Regions from separate parts of the Homo sapiens genome. Here regions 1, 2 and 3 are each linked to region 4. The links are contacts of gene promoters, found by promoter capture Hi-C in human tissues and cell types (Jung and others, 2019). All regions are on one chromosome and are shown on one strand. The core of a region is centred on a gene start or on the middle of the fragment in contact, and the rest is flanking DNA. Distances in the headings are between cores, read along the strand shown.

Evidence for each region. Contacts are between HindIII fragments. The study calls those that stand out against the background at their distance.
Region 1: a contact is called between a fragment that was not itself captured here and the fragment with the promoter of PTX4 in region 4, in 3 of the 25 tissues and cell types used here (dorsolateral prefrontal cortex, lymphoblastoid cells and spleen).
Region 2: a contact is called between a fragment that was not itself captured here and the fragment with the promoter of PTX4 in region 4, in 2 of the 25 tissues and cell types used here (dorsolateral prefrontal cortex and spleen).
Region 3: a contact is called between a fragment that was not itself captured here and the fragment with the promoter of PTX4 in region 4, in 4 of the 25 tissues and cell types used here (dorsolateral prefrontal cortex, lymphoblastoid cells, spleen and 1 more).

Annotation. Positions count from the first base shown.
Region 1 is chr16:1,832,618-1,835,370 of GRCh38, reverse strand. It overlaps MEIOB (meiosis specific with OB-fold), which reads left to right. Exons shown (of 14, transcript NM_001163560.3): 14 at 1,005-1,385. The coding sequence ends at 1,115. It also overlaps a transcript of FAHD1 not described here. Among named protein-coding and RNA genes, the nearest start is that of FAHD1, 6.8 kb to the right of the region's middle. RefSeq lists a silencer at 2,229-2,523. The HindIII fragment of the contact is 8,140 bases long and covers 1-2,753 here.
Region 2 is chr16:1,873,949-1,876,648 of GRCh38, reverse strand. No RefSeq gene overlaps it. Among named protein-coding and RNA genes, the nearest start is that of MEIOB, 3.1 kb to the right of the region's middle. The HindIII fragment of the contact is 5,420 bases long and covers 1-2,700 here.
Region 3 is chr16:1,851,225-1,853,924 of GRCh38, reverse strand. MEIOB (meiosis specific with OB-fold) reads left to right here. Exons shown (of 14, transcript NM_001163560.3): 8 at 654-706; 9 at 791-886. Among named protein-coding and RNA genes, the nearest start is that of MEIOB, 20 kb to the left of the region's middle. The HindIII fragment of the contact is 5,559 bases long and covers 1-2,700 here.
Region 4 is chr16:1,487,527-1,490,326 of GRCh38, reverse strand. It overlaps PTX4 (pentraxin 4), which reads left to right and starts at 1,383. Exons shown (of 3, transcript NM_001328608.2): 1 at 1,383-1,558; 2 at 2,357-2,800. The coding sequence starts at 1,418. The HindIII fragment of the contact is 5,905 bases long and covers 1-2,014 here.

The sequences.
Region 1 (2,753 bases), core at 74-2,573, 350 kb before region 4:
CCTGTAGTCTCACAGATTGAGTCCCTGCTACAGCTTAAAGTCTATCACAGTTGGTAGTTTGAACACACATTAAGCCCTTTTTCATATGTTATACTTTTTTTTTTTTTTGAGACACAGTCTCACTCTGCTCGCTCTGTCACACAGGCTGGAGCACGTGGTGCGATCACAGCTTACTGCAGCCTCAACCTTCCCAGGCTCAAGTGATCCTCCCGCCTCAGCCACCGAGTAGCTGGGACCACAGGTGTGCACCACCACACCTGGCTAATTTTTATATTTTTAGTAGAGACAGGGTTTCACTTTATTGGCCAGGCTGGTCTTGAACTTCAGGCCTCAAGTGATCTACCTGCCTTGGCCTCCCAAAGTGCTGGGATTACAGGCATGAGCCACCTCACCCAGCCCTGCATTAGACATTTTTTTTAGTGGGGGGGGGTGGGGGGGACAGAGTTTCGCTCTAGTTGCCCAAGCTGGAGTGCAATGGCACAATCTCTGCTCACTGCAACCTCTGCCTCCCGGGTTCAAGGGATTCTCCTGCCTCAGCCTTCTGAGTAGCTGGGATAACAGGTGTGTGCCACCATGCCCGGCTAATTTTTTGTATTTTTAGTAGAAATGGGAGTTTCACCATGTTAGCCAGGCTGGTCTCGAACTCCTGACCTCAGGTGATCCACCCGCCTTGGCCTCCCAAAGTGCTGGGATTACAGGCGTGAGCCACTGCACCAGCACCCGGCCACATTAGACTTTTAATCCCAACTTTCCTACCTGAGAGAAATAGCATGAAAAGTGACAAAATTTTTACAAAATCAGTCAGAAGCTGGGCCTGTAAATTAACTGTACTCCGAGACTGGAACTCTTCCCATCATCTTACAGCTCTAATGGAAGTTTATATTAGTATCTGTAAACAAAACTTTCATTGCAGTTCTCTATTCGTGATCATTGATTTTTCAACTTGATATACAAGGGGATTTTAAAAATTAACCTTTTGTCTCTTTTTCTGTTTCTCCTCGCAGTTCGTTCTATCACACAGAGCAAGGAGTGGATTGAAAATTAGTGTACTCTCGTGCAAGCTTGCAGATCCTACTGAGGCAAGCAGAAACTTGTCTGGACAAAAACATGTTTAAAACGGTCTATCATTTTGAACTCTGGAAAAGTATAAGAGTTTTAACTCCCTTTAAAATGGAATATTAATTTGAAAATTATGGGGAAAATTGCATTTTGTTTACATGTGGTGAACATGTTTCTAGAAATTGTTATGGTGGAGGTGGTCTGGGTGAGTCTGAAGGCCTCTCTCATCTGACCTCCCTTCTTAGAAGGCCTCCTACTGTCTTTGCCTTGTCTCCTCCCAAGTTGGAAAATGTTTACATGAATTAATAAACAGATTTAATCTTCTACAGATTTGAATGATTTATTTTCTTTTCCATGTAGTTGAACGGCTTTGAGTGAGTTTCTTAATCCTGAGTGAATGATTTATTTTCTTAAGCCAGTTTATTATTTGTCTTGGTTCCCTGGAAAAAGAGTAGGACCTCAAGGGCTGGGCACGGTGGCTCATGCCTGTAATCCCAGCACTTTGGGATGCCAAGGCAGTCAGGAGATCGAGACCATCCTGGCTAACACAGTGAAACCCCATCTCTACTAAAAATACAAAAAATTAGCTGGGTGTGGTGGCACGTGCCTGTTGTCCCAGCTACTCGGGAGGCTGAGGCAGGAGAATCTCTTGAACCTGGGATGAGGAGGTTGTAGTGAGCTGAGATCCAGCCACTGCACTCCAGCCTGGGCGACAGAGCGAGACTCTGTCTTAAAAAAAAAAAAAAAAAAAAAAAAAGTACCTCTAAAGACTACTTTCTGAGAGCTGGGTGGTGACTCGTCATCTGACAGATCTGACAGGATGAGGGCAAGGGGCTCTTGGTGCTGGGTGGGAATAGCCAAAGTCGTGGGCAATCCTGTGCGACTGCTTTGAGCACCTGGGGCTCTTCTAGTCCCTGGTCTTCTCTGGTGACACACTGGAGTGCCCAGTGCTTGTGGAGGCTTGCTGGCTCAGGGCTGACATGACTGAGTCTGAATCAACTGGGAGGAGACCAACTTCAAAAGGTTCATGAGCATGCCTGGGTCTCAGAACTCTGAGGGGGACCTACTCAGGACATGAGGACGACAGCTGCCACTTTATCTGTTTGCTTTGCAGCAGCCACAAAGTAAACGGCTCAACTGCACACCATTGAGAGTCACTTGCTTCAGGGCGCAGACTCCAGCTGTGAAGACCCACCGCTAAGGTCAGTGTTGACCCACGGCCTGGGAGGTTTGACCTGGTACTTTAGAAGGCTACATGCCCTCCACCACAGGATTGAAAAAAAAGGAAAAAGTGAGTATATGAAACTGTTTCCTAAGGCTGGTGTTGGGAGATAAACCATCGTCAGTCATGTTTTATCTGGCTTTTACCATGTGCAGCCACAGAGGAGGGATGCAGGTTCACCCCTAAGTGTCCAAATTGTGGTGATAAGGTAATGAACGACTTGACCTAGTTGTGCAGAACAGGCCTTCCATCCTCCCTTGGGGAGAACTGGGGGGTTTGTGAAGCCAGGTGAATGGGGAGGGTGGACAGGGAAGGAAGGAGAGGAGAGAAGTGAGGGTGTCGTGGTTGGTGCTGGCTTGGCTCCCACTGTTGGTTCAGCAAGAGTGGGTATGGTGCCCCCTCCACTGAGCCCCGTGTCCAGGAGCTCAGGAGAAGCCACCTTACTCGGTTAATTTTAAAACATTTTGTAGAG
Region 2 (2,700 bases), core at 172-2,671, 390 kb before region 4:
AGGTCCCTGGGCACGGACTACGGATGCTGAGTTATTTCAAGCCCAGCACGTTACTCACTTCAGCTCAGCACCTCTCACCTTGTCCTGAGGCTTTCAGTTCCAGTTTCAATTCACCGTTCAACCTTTTTTAAAATTTTTATTTATTTATTTATTTTTTTGAGACGGAGTCTTAAAAGAGCTTAGGAGCTGAGCTTTACATACTTGGCAATGCTGCAAATGGCTGGAGCGCAGTGGCGCGATCTCGGCTCACTGCAACCTCCACCTCCCAGGTTCAAGCAATTCTCCTGCTTCAGCCTCTCGAGTAACTGGGATTACGGGCACCTGCCACCACAATACATTTTTGTGTTTTCAGTAGAGACGGGGTTTCGCCACGTTGCCCAGGTAGGTATCCAGCTCCTGACCTCAGGTGATCCGCCCACATTGGCCTCCCAAAGTGCTGGGATTATAGGTGTGAGCCACCACGCCCGGCCTCCAGTAGCTCTTAAATTGCTTCTTTTTGGCCCTAAACACGATTTCCACATCTAGTTCTTCCAGTCCCTTTTGCAGGTTACCTCACTCCTCTTCTCTACATAAACTTCTGCAAAAGTTTACAAAAAATCTGTAAATGTTAGTGTATCTACAACCTATTTATTTATTTATTTATTATTATTATTTTTTCTGAGATGGAGTTTCACTCTTGTTGCCCAGGCTGCAGTGCAATGGCGCAATCTTGGCTCAGTGCAACCTCCGCCTCTCGGGTTCAAGTGATTCTCCTGCCTCAGCCTCCCAAGTAGCTGGGATTACAGGCATGTGCCACCATGCCGGCTAATTTTTGTATTTTTAGTAGAGATGGGGTTTCACCATCTTGGCCAGGCTGGTCTCGAACTCCTGACCTCAGGTGATCCACCCGCCTCAGTCTGTCAAAATGCTAGGATTACAGGGGTGAGCCACCACGCCTGGCCTACAATCTATTTAAAACATGATTAGGCCAGGCACAGTGGTTCATGCCTATAATCCCAGTGCTTTGGGAGGCTGAGGCAGGAAGATTGCTTGAGTCCAGGAGTTCAAGACCAGCTTGGGCAATATAGCGAGACCCCATCTCTACAAAAAAATACAAAACTTAGCCGGCGTGGTGGTGTGCACCTACGGTCCCACGGGAGGCTGAGGTGGGAGGATCACCTGAGCCCAGGGAGGTCGAGGCTGCAGTGAACTGTGATCGTGCCACTGCACTCCAGCCTGGGTGACAGAGTGAGACCCTGTTTTGGGAGAAAAACAAAAAAGATGATCAGTCCTTTGATGGAGTGACGAGTGGGGGTGAGACTAATTATGCCAGTAACTGATCTATTAGTATTTCAGCTCCTGGGAGGAAGACCATAGTCACGGGATCAATGCTGGAAAAGTTATAGTTTTGTTAAATAAATAAAAGCTTATCTTGTAATTCATTAAAATAACTGTCAATTTTTAATGAATTTCTATCTTGTAATTCATTAAAATAACTGTCAACGTTTCTACTGATTAGAACGTGTAAAGTTTATGACTATATATTTTGCCTGTCACTCCTTTGTGACAGCTCCTAGATGTTTTGACAGCTGGCATGCTCTGGGGAGCTGACCATGTAGCCAACTACCGTTTCTTTAGCCAGACATGTGAGCTATTTCAGCTCTGACCCTTGTTCGCTCACCCTTGACTTCTGCATCAAGCGGCAAGGGCAAGCTAGCATTTCTAGTCCTTATTTCTGTTCGTGTACATCCAAAATATATTGACAAGTCAATCCTATTGTTAAGAGCAAGCCAATTTCACAGAACTGCTATAAAAAATGGAAGAAACAAATTCCGTACACAACAAGGGAGACTTAATTTCACGAGCGTGAAGCAATTCCACTCTTTTAGGCTTGTATTTTGAAGCATCGTGGCTTATGAGAAGCCTGTTGTGTCCTGGCAAGGCTGACACTGTTTGCTTAACCTTATGTAGCTTTCTGCAAAAATTAATTTACTAAAACGTGACAAAATTTAAAAAATTTTAGAATATTATTGCTTCACTGAGGCTCAAATGAAAAATGCATGAAAACTATTTTTATATTTTTTCCTCTCCTTTAAGATGGACTTAAAATGCTAGTTTATTTTATTTTGTTATTTTGTGTTTTTTTTTTTGAGACAGAGTCTCTCTCTGTTGCCCAGGCTGGAGTGCAGTGGCCCGATCTTGGTTCAATGCAACCTCCACCTCCTGGGTTCAAGCAATTCTCCTGCCTCAGCCTCCCGAGTAGCTGGGACTAAAGGCGCATGCCACCACGCCTGGCTAATTTTTTGTGTTTTAGTAGAGATGGGGTTTCACCGTGTTGCCCAGGCTGGTGGCCAACTCCTGAGCTCAGGCAATCCGCCCACCTTGGCCTCCCAAAGTGCTGGGATTACAGACGTGAGCCACTGCCCCCGGCCACTAGTTTATTCTTTTGGAAAGATAAAGATAGGTTTTTTTTTTTTGTTTTTTTTTTTTTTTTTTTTTTGAGATGGAGTCTCCATCTGTCACCCAGGCTGGAGTGCAGTGGCGTAATCTTGGCTCACTGCAACCTTTGCCTCCCAGGTTTAAGCGATTCTCCTGCCTCAGCCTCCCGAGTAGCTGGGATTACAGGCTCCCGCCACCATGCCTGGCTAATTTTTGTATTTTTAGTAGAGATGGGGTTTCACCACGTTGGGCCAGTCTGGCCTCGAACGCCTGAGCTCAGGC
Region 3 (2,700 bases), core at 65-2,564, 360 kb before region 4:
AAAATGAGGTCTTTAGATGGCATGGAATTGCTTAGGGGGACTCCACCGTGCCCAGTTTTATTATTGAATTCTGTCGTGTAACAAATGATGTTTTATTAGGTCCCATGGAACAAGCCAGAGTTTCCCTCTGTGCTTCCTGGGAAGTATCCTGGAGCAGGGCAGGACACAGGGGCACGTGGGCCAGGGTGGGGACTGCACCCTGAAGCACTGCCAGGTACAACAAGGCATTGTCTAGACCTCTGATGCCTGGGTACCAAAGGAACTGATTTCAAAAATGTCTTCAACCCATCAAGGCCCCTGAGCAGTTTATCCACTGGGGGACACTCACCTTCATGGTCTGAAAGTGTGAGTTTAAAGTCTTCAGGCTTTAGTTCTAACTAGCCTGGAGTGATTAAGTGTTGGAAAAATAAATTAAGAATTGGCAGAGCAGAGTATTACTAGAGGAGAGTGTGTGTTGAAGGAATGTTCTCTCATGGAGTTGTTAAATTCTCCCTAGGAGGAAGCTGGCATGCTTAAGACTAGGAGGTCTTTGACCACCTTGGGGATGGCTGACCCCAGCCACTGAAGCTTTCTTTTATTGTTGTAAATAATATGTCACTATCAGTTTTTTCTAGTGTATTCAATTTGTATTACTTCTTTTTAAACAAATGCAGTTGGGATAATGAATCCATTCTACTTGCACAGAGCTGGATGCCACGAGAAACAGGTATTATCATTCAATGATTGTGTCCAATATTTGTCATTTATATCCTCCCATGTAATAATTTTAAATGGCTTTTTTCCCAAACAGTAATATTTGCCTCAGATGTAAGAATAAATTTTGACAAATTTCGGAACTGCATGACAGCAACTGTAATCTCAAAAACCATTATTACAACTAATCCAGGTAAAAAACTTTGTGAAACCTTTTATCCCTTTGGAAATGACTGAACACATTTCAATATTTATACAGTATATTTAAGAATGAAAATTCAGCCTGGATTTAATTCAAATTAGAAGTAAAAATTGCTTTATATAACTTTTTTAAAAACTTACAATGAACTTTGATATCTTTACTAAAGAAATGTGAGGTCGGACGTGGTGGCTCATGCCTGTAATCCCAGCACTTTGGGAGGCCAAGGCAGGTGGATCACCTGAGGTCAGGAGTTCAAGACCAGACTGGCCAACATGGTGAAACCCAGTCTCTACTAAAAATATAAAAATTAGCTGGGCTTGGTGGTGGGCGCCTGTAATCCCAGCTACTCGGGAGACTGAGGCAGGAGAATCACTTGAACCCAGGAGGCAGAAATTGCAGTGAGCTGAAATCGCGCCATTGTACTCCAGCCTAGGCCACAAGAGCAAGACCCCGTCTTAAAAAAAAAACAAGGCTGGCGCGGTGGCTCACACCTGTAATTCCAGCACTTTGGGAGGCCAAGGTGGGCTGCTCACGAGGTCAAGAGATTGAGACCATCCTGGCCAACATGGTGAAACCCTGTTTCTACTAAAAATAGAAAAATTAGCCGAGCGTAAAAGTGTGCGCCTGTAGTACCAGCTACTCGGGAAGCTAAGGCAGGAGAATCACTTCAACCCAGGAGGTGGAGGTTGCAGTGAGCCGAGATTGCACCACTGCGCTCCAGCCTGGCGACAGAGCGAGACTCCGTCTCAAAAAAAAAAAAAAAAAAAAAAAAAAAGTGAAAAACCAGATTAATTTTAAAGTATAATTCATTGTGATAATTTTTGAGAGATCGATTTTATTGCTTGGATGCTAAATTATTGACTAATAGGTAAATTCAGTTTTGCTACATTCAAATAACTTTTACTGCTAGGACATTGATAACACATGCATGCGTGCACACAGTACTCTCTGTGTAGTATCATTAGCTCATAACTGCACATTAAATGCCCAGATGATCCCCTGGAGTGGTTGTTGAAGGAGTTACAGTTTATTACAGCATGAAATCAAGGAAGCCAGATTGGGGAGATGAGGGATTAGTGCCTGTGAGCATTCCCAGGGTGCTTTATAGTGCAGACATAACCGTCAAGCCAGTACTGCTAAAGAAATGGAGTAATCAATCCTTTGCCATCTCATGAAGCTATGAGTACAGTATGTAGTGTATCATTTAAAACATACGCTCACGCTGCTGGTCTGTAACAAAGCATCAGCAGTGACAGAATTATAAAGCAATGTGTGCTTTTGACCAAACCATTATCAGCATTTTTAAAAGATAGAATTACTATGAGGAATGGTGTAAAATACTGAGACTCTGGTTTTTATATGAGTACTCTGAATCTTGCACATCCAACACATGGATGTTGTCTCCTTGAAGGCAGCACCATGGGAGGAGATGTGCATGCCCCGAATTGCTCTTCACTGAACTAATTTACTGAGCATGTGCTGTATGCTGGGTGCTGTTCTGGGGTGCAACGACAAAATGGATAAATATTTCCACCCTCATGGAGTTTACCCTCCAGCAGGGAGAGACAGAGAATAAATAATGAAGATAATATGTCCGTGAATTATGAAATATTTAAGGAGAACAGGTGGAACAGAGTCAGGAGGACCTAGAGAGCCACAAGGTGGTCGGGCACGCTGCATGGGAGAGTGACGTTTGAGCAAAGACTTGATGAGGAGGCTAAAGGGATAACCAAGGGAAAGCCCTGTGCCTATGTGTGGGAGGAACACCCAGGGGCTGGTGTGGCTGGAGCCCAGGAGTTCAAGGC
Region 4 (2,800 bases), core at 134-2,633:
TTACCTCTTCCAGCTTCTGGGGCCTCTGGGGGTTCCTCGTGGCAGCGTCACCCCAGTCTCTGCCCCATCTTCACAGGCCGTGTCCTCTGTGCCTCCTCCTCTGTCTCTTGTACCCCTGTCATTGGCTTTAGGGCCACCTGGATAATCCAGGATGGTCTCATCTCAAAATCCTTCATGACATCCGCAGAGACCTTTTCCACATAAGGCCCTGCCTGGGGCTTATGTGTGTTTTTAGGAGGGTCTCATTCAAGCCAGTACACAACCTGTAACCAAAAATACCAGCCTGGCCCACATGGGGCAACCCCGTCTCTACTACAAATACAAAAATTGGCCGGGCGCGGTGGCTCATGCCTGTAATCCCAGCATTTCGGGAGGCTACAGCGGGTGGATCACCTGAGGTCGGGAGTTTGAGACCAGCCTGGCCCACATGGTGAAACCCCGTCTCTACTAAAAATACAAAAATTAGCCGGATGTGGGGGCACATACCTGTAATCCCAGCTACTTGGGAGGCTGAGACAGGAGAATCCGTTAAACCCAGGAGGCGGAGCTTGTGGTGAGCGGAGATCGCACCACTGCACTCCAGCCTGGGTGACAGAGCAAGACTCCGTCAAAAAAATTAATTAATTGGCCAGGCGCAGTGGCTCATGCCTGTAATCCGAACACTTAGGGAGGCTGAGGCAGGCAAATCATGAGGTCAGAAGTTTGAGACCAGCCTGACCAACATAGTGAAACCCCATCTCTACTAAAAATACTAAAATTAGCCGGGCATGGTAAAGCACGCCTGTAATCCCAGCTCCTCAGGAGGCAGGAGGCTGAGGAAGGAGAATCGCTTGAGCCGGGGAGGCAGAGGTTGCAGTGAGCTGAGATTGCGCCATTGCACTCTAGCCTAGGCAACAGAACGAGACTCCATCTCAAATAATAATAATAATTAATTAATTAAGGTGGCTCCCAGTCACATTTCCATTGCTTTACTGAGAGAGACGGGGCCTCCCAGGATGCAGCCGTGCACGGCCTGGGTGATGGGTGCCTGTGCAGACCTGGCTCTGTTGACTCCCCAGCCCCCGTCGGGTTCCCTGTCTTGCTTCGACTTCTCGGGAGCACAAGTCCATGTGCTCCTGTTAAAGCCATCGCCTCCTGCCCGCGGGCTTGCACCCAGCTGAATGATTCTTCAAAGAAACTGTTTGCATCTGTTTTAAGCTTGTCTCCTTAGGAACCTGCAAGTCTCAGAGCCCACTGGCTTGAAGGCAGATGCCTTTCATGGAGGCGGCAGGAAGAACCTGACATCCAGCCAGGGCCAAAGAAGGAAAACCACTCAACAGGAGAGCTGGGGGGACGAGACACAAGACAGACCCACGGAGCCACCTTCACCCTCTCCTGCGGCTGGAGGGAGACTGCTGGGGCCTTGCCGTCTCTCCGGATGGGTTGCTCGTGGAGGAAGACCTTGTCTTTCTTCCTTGTTTTTGTGCCTATATATCTACATGGGGCTTCATCGCAGGAAGCCGCCCCAGTGGGGCCCAGGAAACCGTTTTTCGAGAGGCTCCGTAGGCTGGAGGAACAGGCAAGTTATACCCCTGACATGGCGCAGTCGGGTTTTTAAATTGGCAGCAGATGGAAGACGGATGTTACAGAAGCAGATTGGTAAACATCAGGGCTTGGCGGACACGAACACCGCGTGTGACGCTCTTTCCATCCATGAAGATTATTTCACCTGCAGTTGGACACCAGGGAAGAGCTGAGCTGGGCTCCACTCACACAGGACACAAGCCTCATAACATGTGGGGGTCAGGTGGGGCCAGAGGCTAGAAGGGGGTCTGGAAGGGAGTCAGGGGAACTGGGGGCCATGGGGGCCGGGTAGTGTCATGGGGAGTGGAAACTGGGAGGTCACAGGTCCACCTTGTGGCAGTCGGTGTGAACGGCCTCCCGGACTCCCACGCGGGGTCCACGGACAGTTCCGGAGTGCTGTGGGCCTGTCGGGCCTGCGCTGGGTGCTTCCTGTTTGGGCCTCGTAAAGCACTCATGAGGCCACCCTGCCGTCCCCTGCTCACAGGCAGGAGCTGGAATCACGAGGGAAAGTGACTTGCCGGTGGTTATGGGGTGAGCGGTGGGGATCAGAGCCCCAGCTGTGGGCCTGGAGTCCACACCCCACGTGGTGCAGCTGCATGGCCTGGGGTCAGTCCCTGGCACCCACCACATCTCACGGCATCGCAGTGGGGATCAAATCGGTGGGCAGATAGCCAGTGCTGGCCGTGGCCCGGGCACGCGGCCGCTGCTCCCAACTTGAGAGGGCAAAGCCTTTCCCGTCCCGCCCAGCCGGCCCGGCCCGGCCCGCCCCATCATCACCGTGTCCTCCTTACAGTTCCGGAGATTCCAGGAGGTGACCTGGACACACCTGCAGAACATCGCCAGCAACTACAACGTGTCCTACAACGTTGACGTCCGGTTCCGGAGCCTGGCGGAAGAGAGCCAGGCTGTGGCTCAGGCAGTCAACCGGTCACAGGCCTCGGTGCAGGGGGAGCTGGCGCAGCTCAAGGCCTGGGTGAGGAAGCTGCAGCGCCGAGGCCGGAAAGTAGACACGCGGCTGCGGGCCTTGGACCTCACCCTGGGCGAGAGGAGCCAGCAGCGGGCCCGGGAAAGGAAGGCACACAAGGCCCAGAGGGACGCCCTGCAGGACTCACTGGCACGCCTGGAGGGCCTCGTCCACAGCCAGGGCGCCAGGCTGGCTGCTCTGGAGGGGCGGCTGCCCGTGGCCCACCCTGGCACTGCAGCCCTCGGGCCGGCCCTGGTCCCAACCCCAACCCAG